Regions from separate parts of the Homo sapiens genome. Here region 2 is linked to region 1. Evidence: promoter capture Hi-C in human tissues and cell types (Jung and others, 2019). All regions are on one chromosome and are shown on one strand. Each heading gives the region's core, a stretch centred on a gene start or on the middle of the fragment in contact. The rest is flanking DNA. Distances are from core to core; before and after follow the strand shown. Region 1 holds the start of C1orf146 (chromosome 1 open reading frame 146). Region 2 overlaps EPHX4 (epoxide hydrolase 4).

Region 1 (2,700 bases), core at 19-2,518:
ACTAATACACCCACATAGCTATGAATACATATATGCAAAGGTTACAAGAACTTTTTGGAGTAGTTACTGGTATGTATGTGGATATGTATGTTTGTGCCTATCAGTTAGTAATCCATAAATGTTCATTTAAATCTTTACACCCTTATACATAGGTTTTAAAAACAATTTAACTAAAGCTAAGAGAAGTAAAGTAATCACGTGCACAATAAGTGAGAAAGGAGTGGGGTCAGTCGTGTCCCAAGTCCCTGTTAAAGGTGAGGAATGAATCAGAAACCTGGGGCTGGGGCAGTGCCTTCTCAGCATTTCTGGGGAAAAGCTCCTCGACCAGCAGCCAAGCAAGGACTGTGTGGCTTTGGGCAAATCACGTCACCTCTGGTTAGGCTGCATCCTCACCTGAAAACAAAAAGCTTCTAAACGGGAGGTGAACGCTGAGCGTGCAGGGACAGAGGGGAGGGGCAGGCGCGGGGGACGGGACCGGGGGACCAGAAGGTGGAGGAGGGACAGTCACTAATGGGCACCTGGGGGACGACAGAATCTGGACAACAAACTCCCGTGACACGAGTTTAACCTATGTAACACACCTGCACACGGACTCCTGAACCTAACATAAAAGTTAAATTAAAAATAAAAACAAAAAGCGTGGGCCCAGTGGCCTCTTAAACCTTTGCCAGTTCCAAGGCCCTGGTATTCTGGGCTTTTGTTGCTACTGTTTTGTTTTTTCCAAGCTCTGGAGTGTTTGCAAATTTAAGTTTAACACTGCCCCATCATCTCCAGCAAGTCACTTTCCCTGCTCAGTCTCCTCACGGGTCCAGTGAGGCGCCGGCCTACAAGGATCTTCACGGTCTCTTCCATTCTTTACTTTTCGGAGTGACCAACAAAGCCTAAAGCAAATAAAATTTACACTCGCAGGTGGGTGACGGACTTCTGACAGGGAAAACCCCGAGGGAGCCCTTTCCACACCGATTCTCAAGGGGAAAATAGGGTGGGCAGGATCTCCTCCCCTCACCCGCCAAAGCCCTGAGGTAAAGCTCTGAGCTCGGCAAGTCAGAGAGCACTACGCCGGCGAAGAACGAAGAAAGAAAAACGCGAAGAGACAGGTCTGCCGAGGCCTCATCCCCAGCGCTGCAAACCCACCTGCTCACCAGGTCCTCAGAGACCGCTCAGGGTTTCCCAAACTTCCAGAACGTTCCGTGAGCAGTGAGAGGCGCCGCCGGTAGGGCAGAGCGCCCAGGGTGCCTGGGGCAGGGTTCTGCAGTCGCTGGGCTTCTGCGCAACCGCAGACCCCGCAAACCTTTTCCGCGCTTCTGGCTCCCTAGAGCGAGGTTTGCAGGAAGCCGGAAGTGGTTAAGAAGATACAAGATTTGTAGGCCTGGCGCGGTGGCTCATGCCACTAATCCCAGCACTTTGGGAGGCCGAGGTGGGCGGATCACGAGGTCAGAAGTTTGAGACCAGCGTACCAACATGGTGAAACCCCGTCTCTACTAAAAATGCAAAAATTAGCTGGGCATGGAGGCGCGCACCTGTAATCCCAGCTACTCGAGAGGCTGGGGCAGGAGAATCGCTTGAACCCAGGAGGCGGAGGTTGCAGTGAGCGAGATCGCACCACTGCACTCCAGCCTGGGTGACAGGGCAAGACTCCGTCTCAAAAAAAAAAAAAAAAAAAAAACAAGATTTTTGCGTGTTAGACTCAGTTGTCCGGAATTGATTTTCACAGTTTTCTAAAATTCAGGCTCAATTCTTAGATTTCTGTCATTTGCAACATAAAATCAAAGTGGCCTTCAGTTTATCCAAATTATGAAAAAGGTAGATTTTCATGAGCAGCTGTCAAAAGGACATACAGGGGCCTGTGTGTTTGCTTTTTAGGACCCCATTATGTTCAGACCTAATTGAAGCTCAGCAATTTATTAAGTGTCACAATCATAAAAATGTAAAAAGACAAAGACCACTACTTGCCTTGAGCCTAATGGTTAGGATACAAAACTATGTGCCTTACTTTGTAAAACAGGTATTCCTGTAGAAAGAAAGGTGCTCCAGGAAAAATCCTTTGGAGCACACTTGTGATGTGCTGTTAATTTTTCCCTGTGATAACCATTTTGTATGTTTGGCATTTTGTATAACTGATATTAAAATTAGGTGCACTCTTGCTGCCTCATTTGGGCAGTTTGTTAAGCCACCACACCTGGCCTCTTGTTTATAAATTACCTGGTCTAAGGTATTTTGTTATCGTGGCCATAATGGACTAAGACAATTCCTCCTCTCTTCAAATCTCCAGAACTTATTCCTCATCTTCATTTTCGGCTGAAGTGAAATAGTTACTGCTAATATTTCATAAAGATTTATGATTTTAATAGTATTTAGTATTTAATATTAAATACTATTCAAATGAGATAAATAAAAGCATCCAGAAACGAAGTTCCACAGATGTCCACCTACCAATCTACCAACATCTATATGCCAGATTCTGCTTTCTTTCCAACTATAGTAGGTGAACTGTATAATCCTATGTAAGGCCAGCCCTCAAATGGACAACAGAGCCCATCTCTTCTTGCTTACCCAAGAATATAGCTCCACCGGCCAGTCGCGGTGGCTCACGCCTGTAATCCCAGCCCTTTGGGAGGCTGAGGCAGGTGAATCACAAGGTCAGGAGATCAAGATCAGCCTGGCCAATATGGCAAAACCTCATCTCTACTAAAAATACAA
Region 2 (2,700 bases), core at 131-2,630, 180 kb after region 1:
AATGAGATGGTATATATAAGTCACTTACAAAAGTACCTGGCTTGGGAGGGGAACAACACACACTGGAGCCTGTTGGGGGTGGGGAGAGGGAGAGCATCAGGATAAATAGCTAATGAATGCTGGACTTAATACCTACATGACGGGTTGATAGTTGCAGAAAACCACCATGGCACACGTTTACCATGTAACAAACCTGCATGTCCTGCACATGTATTCCAGAACTTAAAATAAAAATAAAAAAGAGAGTGCCTGGCTCATAGTAAATGCTTAGAAAATGTTAACTATCATCACCAGAGTTAGGAAATTATTATTTGACACATGGATCTCCACAATGAATGAATGGGAATGAAGGAAGAAAATGAGTATTTACTGAATATTCACTGGGGCCACGTGAAAGATTTTCGACATTTTGACTCTCTTCATCCTCACCCAACTTTGCAACATCATTGTAGATGACTGTTTAGGGTTCTTCAGCAAACTAGTGGTTGAGCCAGAATGTACTGCCCATGCTATGTTAGGCAGATTTGATCAGTGTTTCAGAGTAACATTTTATTGTGAACTAATTATGCCACGCACTCCATAAGGTGAGACCATATGCATATGCTCGAATTGCACTGGGCAGCTAATCTACCACCTCATTAAGCTGTCTCCAAATGAAAGAACAGATCAAAGCATAACATGAAAATGACTTATGTTTATTTATGCACATAAATCCAGAAGGGGAAAAAAATCTTCATGCAGGGAAAATCTTCTAAGGAAGACTTCTCACTCTGGAAAAATTATTAGGTATAGGTGTCTTTGCCATCCTCCACTCTTTTCTTCAATGCCTAATACCTCCTAGTACACTAACATCCTCAATACATTTATTCATAAAGTCCCTTTCACTCACAAAGTATTAACTAAAGTGGGTCGGGTGCAGTGGCTCACACCTGTAATCCCAACATTTTGAGAGGCTGAAGGGGGCAGATCACTTGAGGTCAGGAGTTTGAGACCAGCCTGGCCTGTTTAACATGGTAAAACTTTGTCTCTACTAAAACTTCAAAAATTAGCTGGGTGTGGTGCGCACTTGTAATCCCAGCTACTTGGGAGGCTGAGGCTGGAGAATCACTTGAACCCAGGAGATGGAGGTTGCAATGAGCTGAGATTGCACCACTGCACTCTAGCCTGGGCAACAGAGCAAGACTGTTTAAAAAAAAAAAAAAAAAGAAGCGTCTTAAGGTAGTAATCCTTTCAGCACTAGATGCATTTTAAATCAGGATTTTGAGTGACATAAAATCTTTAAGACTCTAAAGGAGGTAAGAAATCTGTAATGCTGGAATTCTAGGAATTATAAGATAGTAAGGGAGAATTTGGGGACAGGATATTGTCCTAGACCTTTCAAAATATACCAGATATTCCACCTTTGAGTCAACTAAGGGAACTGGGCTTTTAAAAACATCAATTTCTTGACCTATTTAGTTTATGAACTATTTCTTATAGCCCTGTGCTATAAAAACTGGTTTTCTTTTACTGCCATGATATGTACCACCCTTTTTTTTTTTTTTTTTTTTTGAGACGGAATCTCGCTCTGTTGCCCAGGCTGGAGTGCAGTGGCACGAGCTCGGCTCACTGCAAGCTCCGCCTCCTGGGTTCACACCATTCTCCTGCCTCAGCCTCCCGAGTAGCTGGGAGTACAGGCGCCTGCCACCAAGCACAGCTAATTTTTTTTTTTTTTGTATTTTTAGTAGAGACAGGGTTTCACCGTGTTAGCCAGGATGGTTTCAATCTCCCGACCTCGTGATCCACCCGCCTCGGCCTCCTGATATGTACCACCTCTTTTAAAGATGTTCATTAAAAAAAAAAAAAAAAAAAAAGTTTAAACATGTGTTGCTTTCATCTGTACTTATTTGGCCCAGTGGGGTCAATAGAGAACAGAACACTTCCCCTTAGGTAACTGCTATGGTCTGAATATGTTCTCCCAAAATTCATATGATGAAGTTTATTTGCCTCCAGAAGACACATCAACAAGGCACCATGTTGGACACACACAGACATGGATGTCACCAGACTCTGAACCTACTGGTGCCTTGATCTTGGATTTCCCAGTCTCCAGAACGGTGAGAAATAAATTTCTATTCTTTATAAATTACCCAGTCTCAGGTATTTTGTTAGCAACAAAAATGAACGAAGATAGTAACTAATAATTACATATTTGGGGCTCCAGATTTTCTTCCTAATGAGAAATATTTAGGTACTTAAATTATCCTGCATTCATATAAGCCTATTGCTCTGTGCATAGGAAATAGTTCATTTTCAGTTTCCATAAGTGCTCTACTCTGCCTTCTCCTCACCCCAGCCTCACCAAAATCTTCCTAATAACAATCACTCCACGTCTTTGGTTTGTTTAAAATCTCCTTTCCCTACCCAGTGTTGTATTTTGTCTATAGTAGATACTCTATACAAACTGTTTTGTTACTATTTCAGAAATTTGAAACATTAAAAGATACTTCTTTTAATCCTCAAAAAAATATATAAATTTAAATTGGTAGCAGGTAGGTCTTTTTAGGAGGAAAAAGACCTGTGATTCAGGAACATTTAGGAATATTAACTCTGGGCACATGATCAAAAAGTAGGGTCTGTTAAAAGTCATTACAAGAGGCTTGGCGTGGTGGCTTACATCTGTAATCCCAGCACTTTAGGAGGCCAAGGTGGGAGGATTGC

What was found. Contacts are between HindIII fragments. The study calls those that stand out against the background at their distance.
Region 2: a fragment that was not itself captured here is called in contact with the fragment with the promoter of C1orf146 in region 1 in 2 of the 25 tissues and cell types used here (dorsolateral prefrontal cortex and stomach).

Annotation. Positions count from the first base shown.
Region 1 is chr1:92,216,483-92,219,182 of GRCh38, reverse strand. It overlaps C1orf146 (chromosome 1 open reading frame 146), which reads right to left and starts at 1,268. Exons shown (of 6, transcript NM_001012425.2): 1 at 1,135-1,268. The HindIII fragment of the contact is 16,370 bases long and covers 1-2,700 here.
Region 2 is chr1:92,033,151-92,035,850 of GRCh38, reverse strand. All of the region lies in intron 2 of EPHX4 (epoxide hydrolase 4), which reads right to left. Among named protein-coding and RNA genes, the nearest start is that of EPHX4, 4.5 kb to the right of the region's middle. The HindIII fragment of the contact is 5,392 bases long and covers 1-2,700 here.